Linked DNA regions of Homo sapiens: regions 2, 3, 4 and 5 are each linked to region 1. The links are contacts of gene promoters, found by promoter capture Hi-C in blood cells and fetal thymus (Javierre and others, 2016). All regions are on one chromosome and are shown on one strand. Each heading gives the region's core, a stretch centred on a gene start or on the middle of the fragment in contact. The rest is flanking DNA. Distances are from core to core; before and after follow the strand shown.

Region 1 (2,700 bases), core at 7-2,506:
TAAATGAGTTAGGAATTATTTTCTCCACTGTTTAAACAAAGCTACTTCTCAGGTGGGACATTAGCTTCCTTGGAGCAAAGCCAAAATCTGGCTTGGTTAGCCAGAAAATGTAAACACATTTCTGTTAATGTTCAGGGTAGAAAGGAGAACCTCTCCCTTAACTGCTGTGTGAGGCTGGACTAGTTATTCAACCTCTCTGGGCCTTGGACCCTTATCTTTAAAATGAGGCTAATAGTGCCTCCTTCATTAAGTCTTTGCCAGGACTGAAATGTACATTTCATAGCATGATGCTTGGATCAGAAAAGCACTCCATATATATTAGCTATTTGAATTATGATTTGGGTTTCAGGGAGTTTATTCCACCCTTATAAACATATCAAGTGGACACCATGTTTTGGTCTTTTCTTTCCTCCTCAAACCAGGCTGTGCTGAATGGGAATCCTCAAACAGCCCTCAGCCTCAGGGATAAGGTGTCCCAGCCATTTCTACTGTAATGGCTAAGAGCCCTTTTTGTCCAGTCTCTCCCTGTCCTCAGTTGTCCAGGTGAGGACAGCTGACTTTGGAATAGAAAGATGATGGGGCTACGTGTCCTTATTGTGAATCAAAACGTCAGGTCCATGTTTTGATTCTGAGGTCAGAATCAAACCAACCTCCTGGTTGGTTGGCAGGTCCTTGGGACTTTTGTGCCTTCAAAATGTCAGGTTATTTGCCCTGACTCCAGTAGCCCAGCACGACCCAAGTACTACATTCTTGGGCAGAGCCAGCCAGAGCCAGGAGGCACTGACTTTGTCTCTCCGTAGCCAAATGGCTGGGAAACTAGCTGGGAGGAGAGGAGGTGAGGCCAGCAGCTTGTGAACACACGGGCGGGCTCACTGTTGGCAGCGGGGAGGAGGCTCCTGGGCTGGGCTGAGCCCAGCCACCCTCACCCCAGGGGCCCACCACCCCACCTCCCCACCTCCCCCTCCTGTTATGAAACCCACGGGGACAACCACACATGTGGGCAGCCGGGGGCTTTCCTCGAATTGACAACAGCTTCTCGCTGTCGCTCGGCAGAACATGAGCTGCTTACATAAACACTGCCTCAGAGACACCTGCAGTGTGGGACGCAGGGAGTCGGAGGAGGGTGGAGGGAGAGGCAGAAAGCTGCAGGGTGAGAGAACGGCTCCCCACCCCACCATGGAGGGGCCGTCTGTGCATCCATACACTGCACACGCGTGCGCAGACACACACACACACACACAGACACACACGAAGTTGGTTACTTTCTCAGCTGTAACCAGGAGGCAGGGAAGAAGGCAATGCAGTCCTCATTCTTTAGAGACTCAACCTGTGTCCCCAGCCCTCCCCACCTCCTCCCACACCCCCCTCCAAACTCAGCTTGGCTGGGAAAGGAAACTCCCCAGTCTGCTGTGCTCCTGCAAGCTGAGTGTTTGCAGGTGAATCTACTCCAGGTACAGGAGCAGCTCCTGAGGGAAAGGGGGTGGAGGGTGAGCATGGAGAGGGAGGGGGAGAGGGAGGGAGGGAGGGAGGGAGGGGCGGAATCCCTGGAATTTAAGGTTAGAGAATATAGTAGGGGACTGGCCTGGTAAGATGGTATTTGGGGGCCTCTACGGAAAACACATCCTGCAGGTCAGACCAGCATGGGCTCTGCGGGAGAGGGTGGAGGGTCAGTGCATGCTCAGTGGGAGGGCTCTGAGAGGTGGCAGGACCCGGCCGTGTGGCAGTGGCCTTGGGTTTCCAAGTGGTGCTTTCTCACTTTTCTGCCCGTCAGTTTACCTGACACACCAAGTGACTGAGATTGCTGCCTGTGAGTTACCCTATTGCTCATATCTAATCACAAAGCGCAGACAGGTGGGGAGGGCTTCCCTCTCCGGGCCTGGCACCTCTGGGTTTGGGTACTCTGGCCTCCTTCCTCTGGGATGCTCACTCGGACTCTGCTACTGGCCAGCCTGAGCAAGTCGGCAGAGCACAGGATCTCCAAACAGGGGTGCATTCCCTGGCTTCATCAGAGAGGAGGCTTGGAGCTCAGGGAACAGAGAGCAAACTGGATGTCTAGGCCAAGCTGGATGCCAAGGGGAAAATAGCCCTCCTTTTGAAAGTATTCTTGCATTTTAACTGTCATCACAGTTAAGCCACCACGGGCAGACCCTGGAGGCTGGAAGAGGGCATCCAGAATGATGTTGGGCTGGTTTCTTATCACAGAGCACCGGGTAGGGGGATGAGCTAAAAATTATAGTTCTTGTTCCCAGCTTAGCGTGGCTATGGGGCGGGTGGTATCTCCTCTGTGTTCCTTCATCTCTTTAGAGACTGAAAGAGAGGACAAGCCCTTCCCCATGGGAAACATTTTACTATGCTCTATCCTAATCTCATCTCAGAGCCCACTCACAGTGAATAGATCTCAGCTAGGAAGGGAAGCAAATATCCCCAGTGACGATGAAGACCAGACATGGAGGTTTAACTGATCTGTGTGAGGCCACAGAACGAGAGTGTGGCCTCAACGCTCTCAATGTTGACAGAACAGCACTCAACATATTGCATTGCGACATGTCTGCTTCTGGACTGCCTATCCCACCAGGCCGTGAGCGCCCCAGAGGTGGGAACTATATCTTAGTCACCCTTGTACTTTCAAGCCTCACAATGGGACCTGCCGAAAAAAGGGCACTCAGTAAACGTCTTGTGAACGCATGAATTGGTGAGTAG
Region 2 (2,786 bases), core at 260-2,759, 460 kb after region 1:
AACCAACTGATAAGTAATAGATTGGCTACCAAAAAGGATACTGTACCTCAGTTTCTCATGTCCAAAATCAGAAGTAGTATCTGCTTCACTAGATTATTGTGACAGTTTATTTATTTGTTGTTGTTTTTTTTTTTTTGAGATGGAGTCTCACTCTGTTGCCCAGGCTGGAGTGCTTTGGCGCGATCTTAACTCACTGCAACCTCCACCTCCCAGGTTCAAGGAATTCTCCTGCTTCAGCCTCCCGTGTAGCTGGGATTACAGGTACCTGCCACCACATCCGGCTAATTTTGTATTTTTAGTAGAGACAGTGTTTCACCGTGTTGCCAGGCTGCTCTCGAACTCCTGACCTCAGGTAATCTGCCTCCCTCGGCCTCCCAAAGCGTTGGGATTACAGGGATGAGCTATCACGCCAGACCATAAATCTGTATTTGGAGGTAGTATCCAAATTTATGCCAAGTCATATCATTGTAAGGAGGCCGTGGCAGGAGACCCCCTCACCCCATCTGGGTTCCCATGACTCTGGCCCTTTAAGAAGAGGCTAGAACTCTGGAGAAGTTGAGGTCTCCTGGGACCAGGGTGGTCTCGAAGTCCTGACCTCTGGTGATCTGGCCACCTCTGCCTCCCAAAGTGCTGGGATTATAGGCATGCGTCAGTGCCTGGCCTGTTGTGACAGTTTAAATGAGTTAATACTTGTCACTTAAAACAGTGCCCAGAGATAGGAAGAGCTACATAAGAGTTTGTGAAATAAATAAGTAAATAAATAAAACTGTATTTGTTAAAGAAAAAAAAAGAAGAGTGACAGGAGGGAGGGATTCCATGGTTGGAGTGATGGGAGACTTTACGGAAGAGAAGCCTTTAAATTGGGCCCTGAATGATGGTGGGATCTGAAACAAAGGAGGTCCAGGAAGGCCCTGCTACCTGCTCATGTCGACCCAGCTTTTCAGGGCCCGTGTGCTTGTCCCTGCACGGCAGGACCCAGTAAGATGCCAGAAGGAGCCAGCAGAGGGTACTCGCTGGGCAGGCTGACCCCAAGACAGGGCAGAGGCGAGGTCCCATCCCTGCTGGTCCAGCAGCCCTGGAAGTACCTCCTTTGTCTCAGAGTGAATGGGGTGTGAAGACAGAGGAAGGGCAAATCCTACAGACACAGTTATCATCTCTCCTTAACCCAAATCTGAGACTTGTTACAATTCTAGTGTGCTTGTGAACACAATGACACGGAATCTTGCTGAGGACTATCCTGGCAAATTCAGGGTGCGTGCTCACCACAGCGGCAGCCCAGGGCAGAGAACTGCTCAGGAGGGCTATTAATAATTCCAGGAACCACTGCCCTCCAGACACACTTCCTGCAAGGCCCCTGCACTTGGAAGCTTACAGCATGTTCCATGACGCCCACACAGGGGCGGGAGAAGATACTCGGGGGAACACCAGCTGCTCGAGGATTGGTCAGACCTCACCGCCTGCCTTGGCTCAGGAAAACCCCTCTGCTTCCAGCCGTCAGTGAGCGCCACCCTCTCCAGGAACAGATGTCCTGCGTTCTAAATGAAGAGTGCAGAGCCCACAGCAAACAACTGTCCCCAGCAGCCCGGATCCCTCTGACATCAGCCCCCAGGAATGTGCTGCAGACCCTCTAGCACGTTCAGGCCTCCCAGGGGATACCCTCCCCTCCCCTCCTCCATCCCAGTGTTTCACTGGGGACAGGCCTCTGAGCTGCAGACGGAGGCCCACGGAGGGTGGAAGACAGCCCACCCCGCTCCAGACCTGGAGACTGGAGGAGTGACTGGAGTGAGTGAGGCAGCCTTGAGTGGAGTGGAGCGGGAAGCCTGCCTGTGAAAGAGGCAGCTAGGCCAATAGCTGGACTGTAGGAAGAACACGGAGCTGGACTGATTCAACCAAGAGTCCTACCGACCGGTGCTCCCCTTGCCAAGAGTGAAGGCAGATGCCGTGGGATTCTGCCAGCTGCTGAGTACATCTATTTCCATGATGCTTTCCGGAAGTGGGGAAATAGCACAGAATGGGTTTCAGATGGACGTAAGCTAAAAACCCATAAGCCCCCACTTTGATGTTCTGGGTCTCCTAGAATTACTGTCAGCTCAGAACCAGTGGCCAGTAGTCCAAAAGATCTGATTATTTCCTTTTCTCCAATGCACGCTCATCCTGGTGAAAGGTGTCTTTGGAGAACTGGGAGAAAGAATACAGTATAGATTTCTGGCAGGCTACGAGGGTGCTTCCTTGAGGGTACCCAGCCTTTCCCTCATTCAAGAGCTTCCAGTCTGATAAAACTGGCTCAAGTACGGGAATGGATTGAGGGGTCATGACTCTACTCTGCTTTTATGATTTGGGATAGACTTTTGTTTGCTTGACCTAGAAGTTTTCTGCTTATACAGATTAAGTACGAACTTAGTAGGCTTCCTGTCTATTTCACTTCGAGGAACATCATGATCAACCAGCCAACACCACAGGTCTGCAGCAGTCAGACTGATTTCTGCTTTGACTCCACTGTCCAATAGGGTCAGCACGTCCACCTTGCCTTTGGTAGTACTACAGCCACGGGGCCCCCGCCACCCTGGAGCCAATTACTCCGGTCGCATTCAGGTTACTGGTTCAGTGGCTGCTGTTCCTGCTGTGAGGTCTGGCCTTCAGAGAAGAGTGATCACAGCTCCTCAAGGAGGCTGGAGCTCCTTTCATATATTTACTTCTCACCATCAAGGTGAAAGGCATGTCTTCAGGAGCTTCCCAGCGTGGGTGAGGAGGTCTTAAAGGTAAGATCCACTCTAACATCCAACCTC
Region 3 (2,742 bases), core at 77-2,576, 470 kb before region 1:
CCATTCTCCTGCCTTAGCCTCCCGAGTAGCTGGGACTACAGGCGCCCGCCACCACACCCGGCTAATTTTTTCTATTTTTAGTAGAGATGGGGTTTCACTGTGTTAGCCAGGATGGTCTCGATCTCCTGACCTCGTGACCTGCCTGCCTTGGCCTCCCAAAGTGCTGGGATTACAGGCATGAGCCACTGCGCCCGGCCTATTTATTTATTTATTTATTTTGAGACGGAGTCTTGCTGTGTCGCCCAGGCTGGAGTGCAATGGCGCGATCTTGGCTCACTGCAACCTCTGCCTCCCAGGTTCAAGCGATTCTCCTGCCTCAGCCTCCTGAATAGCTGGGATTACAGACGTGCACCACCATGCCTGGCTAATTTTTTGTATTTTTAGTAGAGATGGGATTTTACCATGTTGGCTCAGCTGGTCTCGAACTCCTGACCTTGTGATCCACCCACCTCAGCCTCCCAAAGTGCTGGGATTACAGGCATGAGCCACAGTGCCCGGCCGATGTTTATTTTTTAATAGCTTTATTTCAGAGCATTTCAAACATATATAAGTAGACAGGGCCGGGCACAGTGGCTCATGCCTATAATCCCAGCAGTTTGGGAGGCCGAGGTGGGTGGATCACTTGAGCCCAGGAGTTTGAGACGAGCGGGCAAATATGGTGAAACCCCATCTCTACTAAAAATACAAAAATTAGCCAGGCGTGATGGCAAATGCCTGTAATCCCAGCTCCTCAGGAGGCTGAGGCAGGAGAATTGCGTGAACCTGGGAGGTGGAGGTTGCAGTGAGCCGAGATCGTGCCACTGCACTTTAGCCTGGGAGACAGAAAGACTGTCTCAAAAACAAACAAACAAACAAACAAACAAAAACTAGACAGAGAGTCTGATGAATTCCTATCTACCTGTCACTTAGTTCCAGTGAATATCAGCTCATGCCTGATCATGTCTCATCCACACCCGTGTGCTCATACCCCCTCCTTTATTATTTTGAAGCAGTCCCCAGATATAAGATGTCAAATCCATGGTTATTTCAGTACCTCTAAAACGACTTCTAAAAAATCATAACTGGCCGGGTGCAGTGGCTCACGCCTGTAATTCCAGCACTTTGGGGGGCCGAGGTGGGTGGATCACCTGAGGTCACGAGTTCGAGACCAGCCTGGCCAACATGATGAAACCCGATCTCTACTAAATATAGAAAAAAATTAGTTGGGTGTGGTGGCGGGCCCCTGTAATACCAGCTACTTGGGAGGCCTGAGGCAGGAGAATCACTTGAACCCAGGAGGCGGAGGTTGCAGTGAGCTGAGATTGCGCCACTGCACTCCAGCCTGGGCAACGAGTGAATCTCCCGTCTCAAAAAAAAAAAAAAATCATAACCGCATTGCTGTTTGTTTTTTTTTTTTTCATTTTTCAATCTAGTCAAAACTGTTGAATTTGTCCTTTTTATTCGTTTTTATTCTGTGCTTTCAAAAGAAGGGTTTTTCTCAAAGGCTAATTCAAGAAGGAGCAGAGAAGCAGAGACTGAGGGATAGTCTCAACATGTTCAGTGTGTGGCGGGCGGGCCTGGCGCAGTTGCCGGCACACAGGGAGAGGCCTCAGCTTCACCTGCCTTTTTCTCTCACAGGTTTATTCAGTCACCATGAAGCTGCTGCTGCTGCACCCGGCCTTCCAGAGCTGCCTCCTGCTGACCCTGCTTGGCTTATGGAGAACCACCCCTGAGGCTCACGCTTCATCCCTGGGTGCACCAGCTATCAGCGCTGCCTCCTTCCTGCAGGATCTAATACATCGGTATGGCGAGGGTGACAGCCTCACTCTGCAGCAGCTGAAGGCCCTACTCAACCACCTGGATGTGGGAGTGGGCCGGGGTAATGTCACCCAGCACGTGCAAGGACACAGGAACCTCTCCACGGTAAGGCTCCCCTGTGAGCCAGCAGCTCTGCTCAGCCCCGTCTCTGGCCTCTCAGGGTTCCCTGTCTAGTTGGGCCCAGGGCAGCCTGGCAGCTTGGCAGAGGTAGGATGAGGCAGACAAGTCTCGATGATAGAGTGGACAGGCTGATTCTTTCTCTCTCATTGTCTGAATCAGCAAATTCTGAGTCTTCTGCAGCACCTTCTGACCCCCTGCATAGGTGTTCTGAAGCCCTTAACAAAAGGCAGCCTGGGGCTGGGCACAGTGGCTCACGCCTGTAATCCCAGCACTTTGGGAGGCCAAGGCGGGTGGATTATCTGAGGTCAGGGGTTCGAGATCAGCCTGGCCAACATGGTGAAACCCCAACTCTACTAGAAATACAAGAATTAGCCAGGCATGGTGGCGGATGCCTGTGATCCCAGCCACTTGGGAGGCTGAGGCAAGAGAATCGCTTGAACCCAGGAGGTGGAGGTTGCAGTGAGCCAAGATCGAGCCATTGCACTCCAGCCTGGGCAACAGAGCGAGAATCTGTCTCAAAACAAAACAAAATAAAAGGCAGCCTGGAAGTGGGGTTCTCAGCCCCCCAGAATCTTCCTCAGCGCCGCACTTGAGTCACTCAGAAATACTGAGAAAACACGGCTCCCAGGACGGTATTTCTCATAGAGTTTACCATTGACAGAGTCCATTACACACTATCCCGGGTGAGCCCACAGTCCCTCAAGGTGCAGGTGAGATTATCTGCATTTTATAGGAGAGGACACCGAGGGTCCCGCAGTGAGTCCCTGCAGAGACCAGGGCTGGAACGCCAGGTCTTTGGATTCTGTGTTCTTTCTTCCATATCAT
Region 4 (2,700 bases), core at 199-2,698, 450 kb before region 1:
CGGTTCATATGTTCTTTTTTTTTTTTTTTTTTTGAGACTGAGTCTCACTCCATTGCCCAGGCTGTAGTGCCGTGGTACGATCTCAGCTCACTGCAACCTCTGCCTCCCGGGTTCAAGCGATTCTCCTGCCTCACCCTCCTGAGTAGCTGGGATTACAGGCGCATGCCACCACACCCACCTAATTTTTGTATTTTTGGTAGAGACAGGGTTTCACCATGTTGGCCAGGCTGGTCTCGATCTCTTGACCTTGTGATCCGCCCAGCCTGGCCTCCCAAAGTGCTGGGATTACAGGCATGAGCCACTGCGCCAGGCCAGTTCATGTGTTCTTTTAACATTTTGTTTGAAATGGAGGCTGACTGCATGGAAGACTGCCTTGATCTAACTGATGATTTTGTTTTTTCACTGAAAAACTTAAAGCAGCCTTGTAAACTAGTTTAAATGGGAGAATCCTTGGAAAAGTGTTGATGTTTGGTAATTTTTGAGCAAACGAAGGTAAGAACCAATGCAAACTTACTTCCCCAGAGTTCTGCATTGTGTCTTTGTCTTGAAAAAGAACACAGAATGGCCAGGCGTGGTGGCTCACGCCTGTAATCCTAGCACTTTGGGAGGCCGAGGCGGGTGGATCGCAAGGTCAGGAGATCGAGACCATCCTGGCTAACACGGTGAAACCCCGTCTCTACTAAAAATACAAAAAATTGGCTGGGCGTGGTGGCGGGCACCTGTGGTCCCAGCTACTCGGGAGGCTGAGGCAGGAGAATGGCATGAACCCGGGAGGCAGAGCTTGCAGTGAGCCAAGATCTCACCACTGCACTCCAGCCTGGGCGACAGAGCCAGACTCCGTCTCAAAAACAAACAAACAAAAAAAGAACACAGGATTTTGCATCCATAGGAATGGATTCATGTCAATTCCATCATTGACTATCTGTGTGATCTCTAACATGTTTAACCTCTCTGCACCTCAATATTTTTATGAAGTAGAAATTATAATTTTATACTGCCTACCTTATAAGGTAGGTATAAGTATAATGAGAAGTAAATATGCAAAATGTTTTAGAAATTAAAGCTCTGTACTAGTAGTAATTAACATTTTGTTCTTTGGATTCCTTTGAGAATCTGAAAAATACATGATTGCTCATACACACTCATAGCATGTGTAAATATACTCCAACCTTTAATTTCATTTATAATTGGGAGCAGCATGGGGATGGGAGGTAGACGAGAAGGGAATGATCTCCTGAAGCCCCTGTGCCCCAGGTGAAAAACTTCTGCTGCAGACAAGAGTAAGATGAAATCCATTCATTCAACAAATTGTTGAGCTCCAACTCTGCCAAGCTTGGCATGACATAGCAGTGAAAGATCCTTCCCTTAAGGAGTGAGGGGAAATAAACAAAAACCAAGTGCTACAGATAAATTAACACGGGGGAGTGAGGTAGGGAATGGGCAGACAGGGATAGAGGTGATCAGGAAAGGGCTCTAACCAGATGACATCTGAGTTGAGCTTTGTGACTGTAGAAGAATGTTCTAAGCCAAAGGGCCGGCCAACGCAAGAATGCTGAGACAGAAATAAGCTTCATCTATTTGAGGCCAGTATGTGTAAACAGCAGAAACAAGGCCAGTCTGTCTGGACTGCAGCAGACATGAGGGAAGAAGGTTGGTGGGAGCTCAAAGTTGACAGGAGTCAGACCACTTCGGGAAAGGAGAAGACATTTGTTTTTGTTTGTTTGTTTTAGAGATGGGGTCAGAGGTCACTGCAGCTTCAAACTCCTGGACTCAAGAGATCCTCCCACCTACCTCAACCAGCCTGGCTAATTTAATTTTTTTTTAGAGACGGGGTCTCACTAAGTTGCCCAGTCTGGTCTCCAAGTCCTGGGCTCAAGTAATCCTGCTGCCTCAGCCTCCCAGAGTGCTGGGATTACAGGCGTGGGCCATCGCCCTTAGACCACAAGAGAGTTTTAACCAGAGGAATGACAAATCAGTTTTATGCTTTAAGTTTAGAAAGATCTGCTGTATAGGAAAATAGACGGTAGGGGGAGGAAGTTGACAGGATACAGTGTGTGGAAAGGCGTCCCTGATTCTAAATTTTTGGTCCAAGCAACTTGAATGCCAGTGCTGTTTACCTTGGTATCTTACCTGTGGAACCACCAAATGTGTTATGTACTGGTTGCCACCATTTTCTCCTGTTCTGCAATGATGCAAACAACAACAGTCACAAGCAGGAAGTGACGGCAGCTTTGGGGCTCCCAATTCTTTTTTTTTCGTTTTGGAGACAGGGTCTTGCTCTGTCGTCCAGGCTGGAGTGCAGTGGTGTGATCTCGGCTCGCTGCAAACTCCACCTCCTGGGTTCAAGCCATTCTCTTGTTTCAGCCTCCTGTGTAGTTGGGATTACAAGCCTGTGCCATCATGCCCAGCTAATCGTTGTGTTTTTAGTAGAAACAAGGTTTTACCATGTTGGCCAGGCTGGTCTTTAACTCCTGGCCTCAAGTAATCCGCCCATCTCGGCCTCCCAAAGTGCTGGGATTATAGGGGCGAGCTGCCGCAGCCGGTCTGGGACTCCCAATTCCCTCTTTTTTTTTTTTTTTTGATGGAGTCTCCCTCTGTTGCCCAGGCTGGAGTGCAGTGGCGTGATCTCAGCTCATTGCAACCTCTGCCTCCTGGGTTCAAACAATTCTCCTGCCTCAGCCTCCTGAGTAGCTGGGACTA
Region 5 (2,738 bases), core at 43-2,542, 500 kb before region 1:
TATACACAGAATTCCCCCAAACAATTGTTTGGTATTTTTGTCGACTTTATTTCCTTCTGATTATTAAAAGTAATGCATGCATATTGTAAAGTGCAAAAAAGTATTTGGGGGAAAGTCGATAATCCTGCTGCAGTCTCTCTTTACATATTGGCATATTTCCTTACAGTTGTTTTTTTTTTGGGGGGAGGGGATACAATTGGCTATCTACACCCATCTTACCTCGACATCAAAATTTCTCCCTAAGCATTTATTCTGCCTTATGGCTGTATCTTTTTTTTTTTTGAGACGGAGTCTCACTCTGTTGCCCAGGCTGGAGTGCAGTGGCACAATCTCGGCTCACTGCAACCTCCGCCTCCCAGGTTCAAGCAATTCTCCTGCCTCAGCGCCCCCTAATAATAGCTGGGATTACAGGCATGCACCACCATGCCCGGCTAATTTTTGTGTTTTTAGTAGAGGTGGGGTTTCGCCATGTTGGCCAGACTGATCTCAAACTCGACCTCAGGTGATCTACCCGCCTTGGCTTACCAAAGTGCTGGGATTACAGGCATGAGCCACTGCACCCAGCCATGGCTGTATCTTAGTTTGCTTAACCATTTCCTTTTATTTTAAACTTTTCTTTTGAACTAATTTTAGATGTACAGAAGAGTTGCAAAAATATAGCAGAATTCCTTTATATTCCTCACCCCAGAGTATAATTATATAATCAGGAGCAGGAAATCAACATTGGCATAACACTGTTAACTAAACTGCAGGCCTTATTTAAACGTCACCAATATTTTCACTAATGTCCATTTGCTGTTTCCAGGATCTGATATGGGATCCCACACTGTTTAGTTATTTCTCCTTAGTTTGCTGCAATCTGTGGCAGTCTCTCCCTCTTTTCTTGCTAGAATGTTGGAACGCAAAGTGATGTTGCATCCTTTAGAGGTATTCATCATGTCACAGTTTTTTGTTGTTGTTGTTAATTTTGAGACAGGGTCTCACTCAGTGCACAGGCTGGAGGGCAGTGGTGTGATCTCGGCTCTCTGCAGCCTCCACCTCCCAGTTTCAAGCAATTCTCCTGCCTCAGCCTCCCAAGTAGCTGGGATTACAGGCATGAGCCACCACACCTAATTTTTTTTTTTTTTTTTTTTGTATTTTCAGTAGAGACAGGGTTTCACCATGTTGTCCAGGCTAGTCTTGAACTCCTGAGCTCAAGTGATCCACCCACCTCAGCCTCCCAAAGTGTTGGGATTATAGGCGTGAGCCACTGCACTCGGCCATGTTGGAGTATTTTTTTACTGGTGACATTTATCTAGATTGGCTGGTGTCTGCTTGATTTCCACACTGAAAAAAGGTGGGTTTTCTGTTGTTGTTGTTTTACAAAAACTGAATGGGGCCAGGCACGGTGGCTCACACCTATAATCCTAGCATTTTGGGAGGCCGAGGCAGGCAAAGGCCGACGTCGGGAGTTCAAGACCAGCCTAGCCAACATGGTGAAACCCCATCTCCACTAAAAATACAAAAATTAGCCAGGCATGGTGACATGCACCTGTAATTGCAGCTACTCGGGAGGCTGAGACAGGAGAATCGCTTGAACCTGGGAGGTGGAGGCTGCAGTGAGCTGAGATGGAGCCACTGCACTCCAGCCTGGGCAACAGAGTGAGACAATGTCTGGGGAAAAAAAAAATACTGAATGGATAAACTGAAGAAGTTATCTTTCTTTCCCTTTGTAGTTTCAGGAGATACTTTGAGACTATGCAAATCCTGTTTCTCCTTGTACTTTCATCCCCTAATTTTAGCACCCATCTGTAGACCCTGCTTGCAACAATGATGACTGTGATGTTTGACTAATGATTCTCTATTTCCCTCTTGTACATTTATTTATTGGAATTCTTTGTAAGCAAGAGCTGGCCCTGCTTCCCCATTTATTTATGCATTTGGTTATTCATAATCAGATTTTGTTCTGTGGGTTAAAGTTGAATAATATTTTTTGAGGCTCAAATTGTTCTAGCTTTGACCATTTTGGGAGCTCCTTCCGGTTGTCTCCTGTGTTCTTCTGGTAAGCCCCTGCCATTTTTTTTTTTAAGTGTTTCCTTAATTTCCTTTACTACAAAATATTCCAGGCTCATCTTGTAACTTCGCTGCCCCAGCCCTAGAGTCAGGCACTTCTCCACGGAGTCCTGCTTTCCTTTATTGGAGAATGCTGTTTAGAAACCAAGGTCTGGTTGCTAGGTATGTTCATTGCTACAGCAGTTATCATTGCTTCTGGGTCCTCTCAGCAGACAAAGCTAGGAAACAGATAATTCAGCACCTATCTGTATATATGTATGCTAAAGAATATGAGTTTGTACTGATAACGCTTATTCTGATCTAACCTCAAAAAGTTCGTTTTATTTTAGTCTTTCCCTTTTCATGATGACTTCTTTCTCCAACAGTGAAAAACCCTCTCAGTCATTTTCTTAGTTGGGGTGAAGGTTATTTTCCACTGGTTTTGCTCCTATTATCGTGGCCCTGATTAACACACATTTCCACATGTGGACTATAGATTATTTGACTCAACTCGCCTTTGAGATGATAACATCTGGAGGCAGAGGCAAGTGTTTCTGATTTTACATACTCTGTGATTCTGCACCCAGAGCTGCACTAGGATGTACTGAATGCTTGATCAGCATCTTACCTGCTGAATACCCCATTTGGATCTGTGCCCGCTCGGCTATGCTCTCCCTCTCTGCAGTTCACAACTCTCCTGCCAATTG

Evidence for each region. Contacts are between HindIII fragments. The CHiCAGO score rates a contact against its expected background, and 5 or more counts as called.
Region 2: a contact is called between the fragment with the promoter of LOXL2-AS1 here and the fragment with the promoter of PEBP4-AS1 in region 1, in 4 of 17 cell types (naive CD8 T cells, total CD4 T cells, non-activated CD4 T cells and 1 more). The highest score is 10.4, in naive CD8 T cells.
Region 3: a fragment that was not itself captured here is called in contact with the fragment with the promoter of PEBP4-AS1 in region 1 in 5 of 17 cell types (naive CD4 T cells, naive CD8 T cells, non-activated CD4 T cells and 2 more); the score reaches 7.5 in naive CD4 T cells.
Region 4: a contact is called between a fragment that was not itself captured here and the fragment with the promoter of PEBP4-AS1 in region 1, in 5 of 17 cell types (naive CD4 T cells, M0 macrophages, M1 macrophages and 2 more). The highest score is 6.5, in naive CD4 T cells.
Region 5: a fragment that was not itself captured here is called in contact with the fragment with the promoter of PEBP4-AS1 in region 1 in 4 of 17 cell types (naive CD4 T cells, activated CD4 T cells, non-activated CD4 T cells and 1 more); the score reaches 6.8 in naive CD4 T cells.

The regions. Positions count from the first base shown.
Region 1 is chr8:22,876,716-22,879,415 of GRCh38, forward strand. It overlaps PEBP4-AS1 (PEBP4 antisense RNA 1), which reads left to right and starts at 1,257. Exons shown (of 4, transcript NR_125433.1): 1 at 1,257-1,436. The region is part of intron 3 of PEBP4 (phosphatidylethanolamine binding protein 4); the gene reads right to left. RefSeq lists a silencer at 840-909. The HindIII fragment of the contact is 10,906 bases long and covers 1-2,700 here.
Region 2 is chr8:23,334,699-23,337,484 of GRCh38, forward strand. LOXL2-AS1 (LOXL2 antisense RNA 1) reads left to right here and starts at 1,510. Exons shown (of 3, transcript NR_038323.1): 1 at 1,510-2,759. The region is part of intron 4 of LOXL2 (lysyl oxidase like 2); the gene reads right to left. RefSeq lists an enhancer at 1,305-1,554. The HindIII fragment of the contact is 1,425 bases long and covers 1,366-2,786 here.
Region 3 is chr8:22,403,079-22,405,820 of GRCh38, forward strand. SLC39A14 (solute carrier family 39 member 14) reads left to right here. Exons shown (of 9, transcript NM_001128431.4): 2 at 1,618-1,902. The coding sequence starts at 1,633. Among named protein-coding and RNA genes, the nearest start is that of PPP3CC, 37 kb to the right of the region's middle. The HindIII fragment of the contact is 5,831 bases long and covers 1-2,742 here.
Region 4 is chr8:22,428,428-22,431,127 of GRCh38, forward strand. It overlaps a transcript of SLC39A14 not described here. Among named protein-coding and RNA genes, the nearest start is that of PPP3CC, 11 kb to the right of the region's middle. The HindIII fragment of the contact is 236 bases long and covers 1,331-1,566 here.
Region 5 is chr8:22,375,222-22,377,959 of GRCh38, forward strand. All of the region lies in intron 1 of SLC39A14 (solute carrier family 39 member 14), which reads left to right. Among named protein-coding and RNA genes, the nearest start is that of SLC39A14, 9.3 kb to the left of the region's middle. The HindIII fragment of the contact is 5,847 bases long and covers 1-2,738 here.